Regions from separate parts of the Homo sapiens genome. Here region 2 is linked to region 1. The links are contacts of gene promoters, found by promoter capture Hi-C in blood cells and fetal thymus (Javierre and others, 2016). All regions are on one chromosome and are shown on one strand. Each heading gives the region's core, a stretch centred on a gene start or on the middle of the fragment in contact. The rest is flanking DNA. Distances are from core to core; before and after follow the strand shown.

What was found. The method cuts DNA at HindIII sites, captures the fragments that hold promoters and counts their contacts. A CHiCAGO score of 5 or more calls a contact.
Region 2: a contact is called between a fragment that was not itself captured here and the fragment with the promoter of SUN5 in region 1, in 5 of 17 cell types (M1 macrophages, M0 macrophages, endothelial precursors and 2 more). The highest score is 8.8, in M1 macrophages.

What each region holds. Positions count from the first base shown.
Region 1 is chr20:33,000,947-33,008,389 of GRCh38, reverse strand. It overlaps SUN5 (Sad1 and UNC84 domain containing 5), which reads left to right and starts at 3,957. Exons shown (of 13, transcript NM_080675.4): 1 at 3,957-4,126; 2 at 5,471-5,529; 3 at 5,729-5,803; 4 at 7,112-7,178. The coding sequence starts at 4,050. It overlaps BPIFB2 (BPI fold containing family B member 2), which reads right to left and starts at 686. Exons shown (of 16, transcript NM_025227.3): 1 at 630-686. RefSeq lists enhancers at 1-305, 306-1,301, 6,677-7,177, 7,178-7,443. The HindIII fragment of the contact is 1,549 bases long and covers 3,678-5,226 here.
Region 2 is chr20:33,286,243-33,293,685 of GRCh38, reverse strand. It overlaps BPIFB1 (BPI fold containing family B member 1), which reads right to left. Exons shown (of 16, transcript NM_033197.3): 3 at 4,804-4,945; 4 at 3,694-3,801; 5 at 2,580-2,729; 6 at 1,698-1,779. Among named protein-coding and RNA genes, the nearest start is that of BPIFB1, 6.8 kb to the right of the region's middle. RefSeq lists enhancers at 1,629-1,678, 2,145-3,105, 3,106-4,066. The HindIII fragment of the contact is 8,984 bases long and covers 1-7,443 here.

The DNA.
Region 1 (7,443 bases), core at 2,708-5,207:
GGAACCATCACCTTGCCTTGCTTGCTTCATCAGGAATCATGGGGGAGTCCCTTCTGGAAATGACCCGCAATGCCCAGAGAAGAAATGGTCTTGCCTAGGGCCACACAGTGGACTGGGACCAGGTGCAGGACCCAAGCCATGGCATAGAAGGATGGTGAGACTCCCAAACGGGGAGACTGAGGGTAGTTTCCTGTCCCAAGAAGATGCCCAGGACTGTATCACCTGATGCCGGAGTCCAGCCCCGTGTGACAGCCAGCTTGGTGTCCAGCTGTCCACCAAATTCAGCCAGGGGAGGACCCAGGGTGGCTCCTGTCCTCATCCCCTCCTGGCCAGGTGGTAAATGGCCTAAGAGTAGGCCTCTCACATGGCCCCCATCCTCTCCTGACTCAGTCTGGCCAAATAGGCAGATCTGTGTCTGACTCAGGGAGAGGGAGCCAGGCAGGAGTGAGGGACTGCGGCTCAGGTGGGTCTGCTGAGACCCAGGATGGCGGCACTTGCCCAGGTCCTACAGCAAGGCCAGGGGTGGAAGGACCCTTCTGCAGAGGGTGGCTGGAGGTAGCATCCCCACTGAACAGATAGAGAAGCCAAGCCTCCTTGGAAGTGGTGTACCAGCCCAGCCCCATGCCTACCTCAGGTGGTTCCTGAGACAGGTGAACTCTCAGCCCCAGGGTAGCCCTCCTCTGCCCGAGGCAGGCAGATGCAGAGGCTACTTTATAAGGCTCCCAATGTGCAGAGTCCACTGGGAAGGGACCCAGGGAGCGGCGAGTTTGCTTGTGGTTGCAAGTGTTTTCCCTGCAAACATGGCCTTTGCCAAAGTGTCTCATCCCACATGTGCGCTGGGGCTGCCACGTAGCCAGTAGCCAGGCCCAGCTCCCAACCACTACAAGCCCCTGGGGCTAGGCAGCTATGGCCTTAGTGAGGGCCAGGAGATCTCTGGAAGGAAAGCTGCTTCTAGGAGGGTATCTTATCATGCCCAGCCAAGGCCTGGGAGGATGGGGCCCATGAGGACCCCATCCCCCCTCCCATAGGCAAGGGGATGGCTGCAATGACCCCTCAAGCCTGGTACCTCCAAGCTCTCTCGGAAACATGACCCTTTTAGGAGGGGCAGAAGGCTACCTGAGCACCATCCTCAGTCATTGACTGAGCCCTGACCCTGTCACATATTCACACACTGAGTCCTGACCCCAGTTACTGAGCTCTGACCCTGATCACATGCTGAGCCCTGATCCCAGTCACAAACTGAGCCCTAACTCAGAAGGGAACAGAAGAGAAAGTGTGCGTGACCTGTCCCCACAGCTTAACATCCCAGCCTCTCTCCAAATGCACATTCCACTCACAATGGATTAGTCCACGGTCTCTTTCCACATTACAAACGTCAGCCTCCGCCTTGGCTGGATGGGACCCAAGGAACTGTGTGTGCGCATGAAGGAATTTGCATATGCACATGTGTGGATGAGGGTTGTGTTGATACATGCATGTGAGTGTGTGTGCATAGTCACATGTACGGGGAAAATGTGTGCTCTTATGTGTGAGTGTGGACATGAAATGGGCACGTTGGCATCTTGGTTTATGGTGTTGTGTGTCTATTCACACAATCCAACAGGACCACAGAGGTGGGGAGTTTTGTGTACATGTATGCATGTGTGGGCTTGGCCTACTGAGTGTTTGTGGGTCTGTGAGTGTGTGGTGTTAGGTGCATGTGTGTATGCAAGTGGACTGTTTCCTGGGATGGGGAGGTACATGTATATATGTTCTTGTGTGTGTGCATATATGTGTGCACAGCAGGCGATGGCCTTTCCATTTTTCTTCATTGGCACAGGATGACTTGGGGCCTTTCCCCAACTCCAGGGCACTCTTTGACTCCCACTGACCCCACACCAGCCCAAATATCAGGCCCAGCTCCCAGGCCCACCCTGTGCTAGGCCTCCACCAGTGTCTACAAAGCTGACCACAGACACCATCAAGCCCTCCCCTGAGCAGCTGGAGCTCACTTGAACCAGCCCTGCCTCCCAACCAGTGCTCCCTTGCCCCTATTCTAGACGCAAAGAGGAATGAGAAGAGCCTGCTGTGAGCTCCCTGACACCCTGCTCCTGGCCTTGGTCTGTCCACCAATGCCCAAGACCGGCCCCTCCTGCGCCCTCACCATAGCTGATGCAAACAGCAGACTCAGTGGACAGAGGCGCAAATATTGACCAAACCCACTCTTGGTGTTTGCTGTTGGCCTGGACACTTCCTTTTCTTAAATATTTCCAGCACAAGAGCCATTTGGGTGACAGCCAGTAGACATAAAAGAGGGAGATTCTCACCAGCCCATCCCAGATCTCAACCGGCTCCTGACAGCAATGGCAAGCACCGTTTGGTGAGCACCTGCTATATGCAGAATGTTCTGCCAGCCACTTTGCCTGCATCCGCAGGGATGGGAGCTGGTTCTGCTCAGCCCTGTTTCCAGCACCTGGACCATACTAGGTGCATAAATATTTGTTGAATGAATAAATGAATGAGTATACATTTGAAAGACCCTTGTAACAATTGTAGTGGTGGCATTTCAGAGTTTCCCCTTCACTGAATATTCTCAGGGGTTTTGCATTGGTGTCCTGTTGCTGCAATAATGTATTATCACAAACTTAGTGACTTAAGACACAATTTATCATGTTACCATTCTGGAGGTCTGAAGTCCCAGATGGGTCTCCCTGGGCTAAAATCAAGGAAGTATTGGCAGGGCTGTGTTCCTTGCTGGAGGCTGTAGGAGAGGAATTGTCCACCTGCCTTTTCCAGCTTCTAGAAGCTGCCCTTATTCCTTGGCTCCTGGTCCCTTCCTCCATCTTCAAAGCCAGCATGTTGGGCTGAGTGCTTCTTGTGCTGCCATCTCCCTGCCTCCCTCTTCCATTTTTAAGGACCCTTGTCATTACATTGCACCCACATGGGTAATCTAGGGTATTCTTCCCATCTCAAGATCGACTGATTAGCAACTTAAATTGCTCTTCTAGTTTTAACTCCCTTTTGCCTTGTGACTTAACATATTTACATGTTCAGGTTTTAGTGTGTGGGCCTCTTTGAGGGACCATCGTACCACTTCCCATTGGTAATTAGCCTGCAATTTTAAGCAACTGCCACCAGGGGGCAAAAGTGAATTCATTTTAGCTTTGCTATCCAAATAGTCAAGCTCCCTACAGGCAGGGTGAACAGAAAAAACTTAGCCCGACATTTCCACTCGGTTATGCTTTTATTTTCCCCAGTAAAAAAGTAGAACTTTATTTTTGGACATAGAGTCTCACTCTGTTGCCCAGGCTGGGTGCAATGGCGCGATTTCTGCTCACGGCAACCTCTGCCGCCTCCCGAGTCAAGCAATTCTCAAGCCTCGGCCTCCCGAGTAGCTGGGATTACAGGCACACACCACCACACCCAGCCAATTTTTTGTATTTTTAGTAGAGAAGGGGTTTTGCCATGTTGCCCAGACAGGTCTCAAACTCCTGAGCTCAGGCAATCCACCCGCTTCTGCCTCTCAAAGTACTAGGATTACAGGCATCAACCACCGGGCCCAACAAAAAGTAGAACTTTATTAAAGCAACAACACATGCAATGTTATTTTGTGTTATGCACAATGTCCACCAGTGAGAAGCTCAGCATTACAAAATGCATTCAGGTGCAACCTAAGAAGGTGAAAAGCCTGGGAAGCTTGGGGCAGGAAGGGATCTAGGAAACAAGGAAAAGCATGGTTGGGTTACTGGAGCTTCAGCTCTCGCCCCTGTCCAGCTTCTGAGACCCCAGCATGGCCCTTCCTGTCTTGATGCCTCAATTTCCCCATCTTAAGAAAGGAAAGTGGGTCACAATGGCTTCCTCTGGGGGAGGTTCTAGGGCCAAGCTGGAGACTAGCCCCATCCCCTGCCCCTCCACCCACCTGCTCTGTGAGGTCACAATGCCAACTGCTCCACTGATCCTGGCAGATTCCACTTGGCACTTTTCAGGGGACATTCAGAGGCATCAGCCCCTTCCTCCTCACCAGCTCCCAGAGTTCCCATCTCCATCCCCAATCCTAAAGAAGGAAATCGATGCCACGGTCCTCAAGGAGCCCTGGGGACCCAGGCGCCCTACTCGAAGATGTGGCCCACAATCCCAGACCCCGGAGGTGAGGATGGCAGCCCCTCCCTTTGCCCAGCCCTTTACAGTTTACAAAATGCTGCCCCTCCACCCTGTCCTTGGAGATGAGTGGCATTGTCAACTGTACTGTACAGAGACAGCCACCAAGACCAGAGAGGTTTGGCAGTGGTATTCCCAAAGTCTCCCAGCCAGGAAGTGGTGAAGCAGCCATCCTTCCAGCACGCATTTATTGAGCATCTACTGTGTGCCGGGAAATGCACAGAGGACGGGGAACACGGTGTGGCACCAGTCTGATGTGCTCCGTTCCCTCATGGAGCTCACGGTCTAGTGCAGGAGACTGGTATGAAAGAAGGAAACAAGTATTTCGCCATCTTTATCTGTCAGAAAGCCTCTGAATGCAGGTGACAGAAATTCCAACTTAAAATGATGCCTATCTCTGGGCACCCAAATCTGGGTGTATATCCCAAGAGAGTATACCAAACAATCCCCAAGGGTGAGAAAAGAAATAACCAGGCTAGAATGTATGTCTTTCATCCTCTTTTAATTTATATTATTCAGGAATGTTACCATAAATCTGTACATTTGGGAAGGGTAAACAATGTATTAGTACAATTGGGTGTATATATAATTTATTAATAAACCAATATAAATACTCTGAGGTGGTATAAACAAAAATGTTTAAAGACCTTTGACTTAAGAAATAAGGGAAAATTTTAAATCTCACATATCAAGAGGTCCCAAGGTGCAGGGGGCTCCGGAGTGTGTTAATTCCTCAGTTCTGCCACCCAAGACCCAGGTTCCTGTCATCATTCTGCTCTTTTAGCCCCCTCTCATGGTCACAAGATGGCCACCACAGTTTCAGGTGTCACGCAGAAATGTGGCGTCTAGGGGAAGGAGAATAAGCATCGTTTTCTGTGGGTCTCATTTAGCTAATCCTAAACCTAACTTTTCCCCCAAGTCCCTTACCTCGTAACCACCCCCCTACCTCACCCTACCTCACCCCTGCAGACTTCCTCACCCTTGAACCAATCACAGCACAGGGAATGGGAGCACGACAGCAGGCTTCGACCAATCAAAATGGCCTAAAATCACATTGGGTAGGAGCAGACAAAGGAACAAAACCAAGCTTCTGCCAACCTCGGGGACATGGCGACAACCGCCTGTGACTGCCACAGCAACCTGGGTCTTTTCCTTGATGGATACCTGGATTTGGGGTCAGCCAGACCTGGGTCTGTCCCTGAATCACAGGCTGGTGGTGTTGGGAAACCTTCTCTGTACCTCAGTTTCCCAATCTGGAACGTGGTATGCACATTCCAAGGACACTATGTTCCTCATAATTGTAAAATGCGACTATGAATCTTATCATCCCCAGGATTGCCCAGCGAGGCCGGAACACCAGCAGGATGGCAGAGGACACCTCCCCAAACATGAGTGAGCAAGGACAGGTGCCCTGGTATTTTCATGGGCAGCTGAGGGGCTGAGGCTCAGGGATGTCAAACGGGCAACCTGGGGCTACCCAGCAAGGGGCAGGGGCAGGGATGTTCGCACCAAGCTCTGGGTGCTCCCTAGGTCTCTGCAAGCACCAAATCAAGAGGCTGGCAGTGACATGACAGTCCTGTGCTCTCTGCAGATGACAACATCCTGTTGCCTGTCCGCAACAATGACCAAGCCCTAGGCCTGACTCAGTGCATGCTGGGATGTGTGTGTACGTATATACTGAATAATCACCTTCGTCATCAATATGGGTCTGGGGAGAGGGTCCAGCCTCGGCCCAGGCTGACCTGGGGGTGGCAATGCCTGCCCTGGACTGCAGGGGTGGTGGGGAGCTGCAGGTTGAACTCTGGAGTTCTACCCATCGGAGGTATCATTCCTGCCAAAGTCTTTGGTGGCTGGAGAGGGGAACTGGGAGGGAGGCTTGCTGTCTGGAGGAGGAGTTAACTGCCAACCCTCCTCTACCACCAGTCTGGCTGCTGGTTTCACCCATCCATCCACCTGTTGAGTTCATCAGTTCTCCCAGACCTTATTTCATAGGTACATCCACCCAGTCATCCCTCTTTCTGTTCATCCACCCATCCTTTCAGTCTCCCATTCTCTCATCTATCTCCTGATTCATCCACCTCCAAGCCAGACAGCCATTCCCTTCTTCCTTCTTCCATCCACCCCTGTGTCCTCTCACCTTCCTGTCAATTCTGAGTCCCCTACTTTTTGCCTAGCTCCATAGTGGGCATTCTGGGATGAACCAGACAAGGCCCCAGCTCTTGCCAAGCTCCCAGTGTCTAGAAATGGGCATTGTTACATTCCAGGCCTTTTGTGCTCCTGAGTCACGATTAAGTGTTTATTGGCCAAGCGCAGTGGCTCATGCCTGTAATCCCAGCACTTTGGGAGGCCAAGGCGGGCAGATCACGAGGTCAGGAGTTTGAGACCAACCTGGCCAATACAGTGAAACCCCACAAAAATTAGCCGGGCGTGGTGGCACGCACTTGTAGTCCCAGCTACTCAGGAGGCTGAGGCAAGAGAATCGCTTGAACTTGGGAGGTGGAGGTTGCAGTGAGCCGAGGTCATGCCACTGCACTCCAGCCTGGGTGACAGAGTGAGACTCTGTCAAAAAGGAAAGAAGGAAGGAAGGGAGGGAGGGAGGGAGGGAGGGAGGAAAAGAAAGAAAGAAAAGAAAAAGAAAGAAAGAAAGGAGAGAAAGAAGAAAAAAGAAAGAAAGGAAGGAAGGAAGAAAAGAAAGAAAGAAAGAAAGAAAGAAAGAAAGAAAGAAAGAAAGAAGAAAGAAAGAAAATGTCTGTTAACTGCCAGTGGCAACCAGTGCCCACCTGTAGTGACCTGTACTCACTCCAGGCTAGTGCGTACCCATAAGCAGAGCCTGGTTCTGTCCCAGGCTCGGCCAACAAGTCGAGAGGGTCTCCCAGCTCCAGGGCCTCCCCCAGCCCCAGAAAGGTCAGCAGGTCCTTGTAGTGGGACAAAGATGAGGGCGTAGTGAGTCACTGCTTTTCTGTCTCCCGTGCAGCCTGGTTCACCTGTTTTGCCTGCTCCCTGAGAACTCAGGCCCAGCAGGTTCTGTTTAACACGTGCAGGTGAGCAGGGAAGGCAGGGGGAGGGTGGATGGGGAGTGGGAAATGGCAGCTGGGGACCATAACAGCCCCTCCATCAGTTTGGATCTCCCCTTGGTAGCCAGACCAGAAAAGCTATCCCAAACCTGGCTTTTATCAAACACTCCCACCCCAGAACCCACTGTGGCCCCCCATTGCTCCAGCCCCTCAGCCTGCAGTGTCCTGGAATCCTGTCCCACCCTTCCTTTCCAAGCTGCTCTCACTTGGCTTCCTGCCAGGGACCCATTGG
Region 2 (7,443 bases), core at 2,842-5,341, 290 kb before region 1:
TTTTTATTTTTCTGTAGAGATGGGTTTCTCTGTGTTTTCCAGGCAAGTCGCAAATCCTGGGCTCAAGTGATCCTCCCGCCTCGACCTGCCAAAGTGCTGAGATTACAGGTGTGAGCCACTGGCCCTGGCCTAAAATACTGTTTTAAATATTGCTACTGTCATTTTAAAGTACTCTTAATAAAATCACATTATTTAAAAAAGGATTTGCTGGAATGTTTTCGTAAATTATTAAACCCAATGTACCTATTTAATAATTACAAGTATTGTATAATGACTTTGAAACATAGATCTGATTTAAAGGCTGACACCAAGAGCAGCCTCTTAAAAATACTAGTGCATGTGGATGGAGGTGGGAAGGCAATCTGCAAAAGATCAAAGCGCTCCTGGGTGAAAGTAAAAGGATTATGGATTTTTTTTCCCCAAATTTTTTCATTTATTACATCATCTTTTCAAAGAAAAAAGTCGCCAGGCACAGTGGCTCATGCCTATAATCCCAGCACTTTGGGAGGCTGAGGCAGGCGGATCACCTGAGGTCAGGGGTTTGAGACCAGCCTGGCCAACATGGCGAAAACCTTGTCTCTACTAAAAATATAAAAACTAGCCATGCCTGGTGGTGCTCATCTGTCATCCCAGCCACTTGGGAGGCTGAGGCATGAGAATTGCTTGAACCCGGGAGGCGGAGGTTGCAGTGAGCTGAGATTGCGCCACTGCACTCCCGCCTAGGCGACAGAGCAAGACTCTGTCTCAAAACAAACAAACAAAAACAAAAATCAAAGAAAAAAGTCTTATTCCAAGAAATATTAGCTATTTGACAAGGTGTTTTGACCCTAGATCGGGTGGCCCATTGTTACGAACACATCTTGGAATTTACAGTGGAAATCACTGGTTAATGTGGATGAATTCAATTTACAAAGTTTTAGTATACCTGTGACAAATAGGGGCAACTAAAATGAGAGTCACCTGTGTTTACTGACGCAGAAAAAAAATCCAACAGGACCTGGTGGGTGGTGCAGCCCTGAATACCACAGCCAGATTGATGTGTGACAGTGCCGTGCTAGAGCCAGCTTGTACTAGCTTTTGAGAACCAATTGTTAAATTTCCACAAATTTCTGAGCTGGGTGCTAAGCCCAGACATTGTTACAAATTAGACATATAAACTTACAATTAAATAAATTATATTAAAACAAATTTAATAAAAATTTAAAACGCATTGCTTCCTAATTAGTTTGCTGTATTTTACTACTATCTATTACTCCTGAGATCATGTTTATGTATCTGTTTAGTGGAAATATACAATCGTGTGCTATTGTATATCTTTTCCCAACTCTGTTCAGTGACATCACACTGGTCGCCTAAAATTGGCCCTGAAGGGAGTATTTCCACCAGGGAAATCCGCAAAAGCTACAAATCAGGTTTGCCTCCCTTCAACAACCCCTCCAGAGACAATTGCTAAAAATTTATCAGCACGTCACTGTTCACGGGCTCCTGGCTGACTTTTAGCAGTCCCATGACCTTGCCTGTCTGCCTGGGTCAATGGCCCACCCCACTCCATGACTCTTTGCTATCCAGCCCCAGATAATTCTTTCAGCAAAACCCACCCAAGGAGACTCCAGTCACTTAGCACCAACTTGCAGTTCCACCCAAGCCCCACAGGGGGCGCAATGCCCACAGGCCAGAGAGGCCCTGATTCCACTCACCTGGTTTTTCACTAGATTGGGCAGGGATGGCACTAGGAGGTTCATGACCTGCTTAGCTAAGGCGTTCACCAGGAAGGAGAGCCTTTCAGGGAAGAGAGCACGAGAGACATTAGGAAGGGTCAGAGATGATCACCCCTTCCTCTATTTTACAGAGGGGGAGGCTGAGTCTAAGGGAGGAAGGAACCTGCCCAAGGTCACAGGACGTGTTAGAGACGGGGCTGGGAGTAGCCCCTGAGCCAGGTGTAGGCAGTGGCAAAGAGTTATCAGAAAGCAGCGGCTGGGTGTTGTCATTGGAACTTTATGCTGGGCATTGGGATGATGGGAGCTGGCATTTCTCCCTGTCCTCCTGCTAAGAAGGGAAGGGGGGGCGCCATGTTTTTTGGCACCACCATGCGCGTGCACTGTTCTGAGTGCTTGATGGCTGTTGTCTGATCAGTTTTCTCACCACTGCCTGGAAGGTGTCATTACCTGCACTTTACGGGTGAGGAAAGTGAGACACAGGGTGGCCACTTGGCCATCATCACCCGGAGAGCAAATGAAGAGAATGTGTTGGCCTGACCCAAAGCCTATGTTTTTGCCCCTGGCTCCACCTACACCTGCCCTGGTGTTTGGAGGAGTTTCTAGGCCTCCCCCTTCAAAGATTTGCCCCACCTCCCGGTGTCATGCCTGAAACCCACCATGGTTGCTTCTGACCTTGATGTCCTGAACTTCCCTTGGCATCACAGATTCCCTGGAAGGAGCCCCAGATCAGGAATCAGGAGGGGATAAGTCCCTTTCTTTCTCTAGGCCTCAGCGTTCTCCATTTGTAAAATGGGGGAAGTCCACTGCCTGGCGTTCCTTCCAGGCAGGATGGGAGCCCGGCTGGTGGCCAGCGACACTCACTTATGCAGCAGTTGGATGCGCAGGCTCCCATGGCTGGTGGCACAGTCACTGAGGACCAGGCGGGTGGGGCCACTTGCACTGGTGTCCATGCGGATGGTGGCTTGGGCCTCAGTCGTCATGTGGAACTCCACGATGGTCTTGACCAGGGGCCTAGCGGGTGGAGGCACCTGACCATGTGAGCACCAGGCAAGCTCGGGCTGGAGCAACCCTGCCGTCCGTCTCTGTCTTCCAGCCCTCACCTCCTTCCTCAGTCTCCTTTGCTGGTTTCTCCTCATCTTCACCCAACTTCACCCCAGCATGTCCCAGGCTCAGTTTTCAGACTCCTCTTTGGTTGAAACGTCTTTCGTCTGCTGACAGCTTCCAAACTTACCCCCAGCCCCCTACTCCGATGTCTCACGGGCTTCTCAAGTTTAGCGCATGCAACACTGGACTGGCTCTTCCCCAGACCTGCTCCTCTCATGGCCTTGCCTGTCTTGGTTACTGACCACTCCATCCTGCCAGTGGTGCAGGCAGAACTCTTGGAGTCATCGTTGACTTCTCTCTCTTTCCCCCTGAATACACATGCATATTCAGTTCCCCGGGATATCCTGGTGTCCCCACCTACCTCCAAAACATATCCAGAATCCAATCAACTTCTCAGCACCTCCCTGCCCCAAACCCTGGTCTAAGCCATCATTATCTCCTCCTGAATTGTTGCAGTAGCTTTGGGATAGCCTTCCTGTCTCCACTCTTACCCCCAGAAAGTCTTTTTTCCCCACAGCAGCCAGGAGTCTTTAAAAATGTGAAAGCACAGCATATCCCTCCTCTGCTCAGAATCCTCCCTGGCTCCCGTCCTACTCAGCAAAAGCCAAGTCCTTATCTTCTCCCAAGAGGCCTTGTATGATCTGGCCTCGGCTGCCTGCTGGCCTCATCTCCTACCATGCCCCCTCTCTCTTTCCCCTGTCTTTGCCATTCTTTGAGCAAGGCAAGTACACTGCTGCCACAGGGCCTCTGCACTTGCTCTTCTCTCTGCTCGGAACTCTCTTTTCCAGACACCTGCATGGTGGGGGCGGGGGAGGGGGAACGAGCAGATGAGCCTGTCAAGCCTACTGTACTTGATGGAGGGGTCACTCACGTGTTGAATCCAGCCACCATGTCCAGGGGGATCTTGACTAGCAGCTCCTGGTCATTGGCCGAGGGCTTCACCTGCAGCTGGAGGATGTTAGCTGTGATGACCTTCAGCCTGGATGGGGTTTAGGAGAGATCAGAATCATGCCTCCGGCTCATTATTCCCAAATCCACTCCCTCTCTATCTTTTCCATCTCCCTGGGGTGCCTAGGCAGCAGCGGGACCCTGGCCCTGCCCACCGACTCCTCTCCAGATGGTCTTGCCTCCATCCCTCCCCTCCACTCCTGCTCACAATGCTATTATGGTGCCTTCTCTTCTAGGTGGTGACTCCCAGCTCCTTGAGCTGACTCATAAGACCCTCTGTGACCTGACCCTGCTGATCCCTTACTCCTTGCCTTGAGGTTTGAGCTCTAGCCATTCTGACCGACTGTCACTTCTCCATGCCTTTGCCCAGCCTGATTCTTCTACCTGGATGCCATTTGCTTCTTGTCTCCTGGTGAGCATTGAGTCATCGGCTCCACTGTCACCTCCAGTGAGAAGCATCACCTCATCCCTTCCCTGTGCCACCCCAGACAACCTTGCTCTGGGTTGTTTTTTTTTTTTTGTTTTTTTTTTTTTGAGACAGAATCTCACTCTTGTCACCCAGGCTGGAGTGCAATGGCACCATCTCAGCTCACTGCAACTTCCACTTCCCAGGTTCAAGCGATTCTCCTGCCTCAGCCTCCTGAGTAGCTGGGATTACAGGCTTCTGCCACCATGCCTGGCTAATTTTTATATTTTTAGTAGAGATGGGGTTTTGCCATGTTGGCCAGGCTGGTCTCGAACTCCTAACCTCAGGTGATCCACCCACCTTGGCCTCCCAAAGTGCTGGGATTACAGGCTTGAGCCACCGTCCCTGGCCTTGCTCTGGGGTTGTTGTATTAGGGTTCCTGTGTCACTGTCTTATGGTTCTTGTTAACTATTCTGGGAGCTTCTTGACGGAGGGGCTTTGTTTGATCCACTCTTTGTGATCTGACACAAGTCGATGCTTGCAGACTGGTTGACTGAGCATGCAGAGCGTGTCCCGGGCAAAGGTGTGGGAAGGGGCTAGCTCCTGGTGTGGTCCTGCTCCACTCACCAGATGATGTGCTTCAGGACGGTGTTCACCAGGCTGCCCAGCACAGGGATGCCTCCGGCTGGCTTTTCCCGCATGGCACTGAGCAGCGGCAGCTGCTGCAGGATGCTGGTGGCGTTGTGGTCCTTCAGCTCCTGTGTCAGCTCTGGAGGCAGACCCCAGGGATTAGGGCCCAGGAGGAGGGGCAAGAAGGAAGGCTTGGTGGGAGCTCCAGGCTGGGGAGGGGTATCACTCGAGGCTCCCTGAGGTAAGGCGAGGGTGTAGCCATCTCTACTGTGGTGGAGGTCAGGACCAGCCTGCCAGTCCCCACTGTGTAGATGTAGCCTTGAGGACAGTAGCCCAGATGGGTCGTTTTCACATCAGGAGCGAGGCTGGGACCATTCACACCCCTGAGCATTGCCAGCCTCTGTGGGGAGTGTCGGCCACTGCACTCAGCACCTGGACCTGCACTCATCCCCTGAGCCAGTTGCAAGCATTTCTAGGGCCAACAGGCAGGGAACCCTCAAAACTCTGTTTGGGGCTGTTTTGCTGCCAAAGCACACTTGTTAACAATTGTCTGGCATCCATATCCTATGGATGTGTTGTCCAAAAAGCCTCAAGTGCTGAGCAGAGGAAGAAGGAGCCAGGACAGAGGCATAAGTGTCAAGAGCCCTGGGTTCTTGTCCCAGCTGGCTTTTTGTGAGCAGCTAGAGCCCATCTGGCTCATGTGCAGAGCAGGTCAGAAGTGCTGGAGAGCTGATGCCCCAGGAGCAGACTTCAGCCAGTGATTGGTGAGAGTTGGTGTATCAATATCCCAGCTCCCTCACCCCTCAGGCAGGATGGCTCAGATGTGTGTCCCTCATTGTGTATCAGAGCTCCTGGGTTATAGCCTCTCAGCTGCAAATCCACCCACTTTGCCTGCTCTGTGGTAATGGAACTGGGCCCAGTGAATATTTCTTTTTTGCCATTTGGCACAGTGTTAAGCCCTTTCAGTGGAGACTCTGGAGGGGCATGGGGGGGATTCCCTTCATGGCTCTGGTGTGCTTCTCTTTCCAGGTTCCTATGGTGTCACTGCCCAGTGGCTTTTGCTGAGTGAGTTCTGCAGGCACCCTGGCTAGCTTCTAGGCAGTTCCCCAGAGACAGCTTCCCCGTGAGTTAACAGCAGCCCCCTTCCTCCAGGGGCAGCTTCCCAGAGAATTTTATTGGCCCCCTGGCAGGTAGTTCTCCACCCACTAGCGTCAGATTGCCAACTGTGGACCAGCTCTGGCCTGGGACAAGCCAGCAAACTTCTCCACCACACAGTGGGCTTCAACCACACCCTCTACAAAGAGGGCTGGGGAGGATTCTCTACCTCTGAACTTGCTCTGTCCTTGGCTACCCCCTCCATCCCTAGGTTATCCTTTAGAGCTCTGTCTGTTTTCCCTCTTAGCCAATTCCTCATTCTTCCAATCCCCTGGTAATACTTCTTTACATTAAACTTACCTGTTGGCATTTACTGTGTGGTTTCTGTCTCCTGAATGGCCCTAATAGATGCAGTTGCTAGGCAGGACTGAGCTTCAGTCGCCACAGTGGTAACTGGCTTGGACATGCACCCCTCATGGGATGCCTTTCCTTCCCTGCCTTGCCTCCCCACACTCCTGTAGGTGTTTCTGGGGTCACCTTCAAAACCAACCACTTGTACACAACTCCTTATAGGAGAGCCTAAAGCATGGTTGTTCATCTCTAAGCTCCTTCTGGCTGAAATTCCACATGCTTGAGCTTCACAGTGTGGATCCAGGCCACCTCTGCCTCCCTCCAACCTCTCAGAGCCCTCTGCTTCCCGTCCTTACTTGGGAATCCATCCGCTGGCTACAGAGCCTGTTGGTCCCACAGGACCTGCCCCTGCCCCTCTGGCCATGACCCAGGCCCCTAGTCCCCCTGAATGCAGAGGTCTGGTCCTCTAAGTGCTCAAGTGGCCTCCAGAGCTGACAGGTGAGTCCCCTCTAAGGGGATGAGACTTTAGAGTAGTCGTTCTCCACTGAGATGATTTTGTCCCCTAAGAGATATTTGTCAATGTCTGGAGACCTTTTTGGTTGTCACAGTTGGGTTAGGGATGCTGTTAAACATCCTAAAGTGCCCAGGACACCCCCCATAATAAATAGTTGTTTGGTCCACAACATCAGAAGTGCTGAGGTTGAAACCATGGTCATAGCATTCATAAAGCTCTAGTCAATTCCAACCACCCAGTGAGGAAGGCCCTCTTATTTGTGTCCCAAGGTGGAAGCTGAGGCTCAGGGACTGGCCCAGTGCCCCAGAGCTGGAAAGTGATACACTGTGCCTGGGACCCAGGCTGCCACACTTGCAGTCAAGGGTCTCTGCTCTGGGGAGGAGGAGCACACTGGGTCTAACTAAGACGGGGTGCTCTGACGATGGGATTTCAGGTGAAGGCAGTGGGAGAGGCAGCTGCATCACTGCATGCAGTGGCTGCATGCCCCTTCTGCAGGCTGTGGAAACTCAGGGTCTTTGGAACTGTGGAATTTAAGAAGGGGTTCTTGGAATCGTGGACTCTTGAGATCACAGACTCTCCAGACCTTTACAACCTCCCACTCATGTTCACCCACGTTCTGGGATCTCAGCCATGCACATCCCCCGTGATGAGGAACTCTCTCCCTCCTTTGGGAAGCT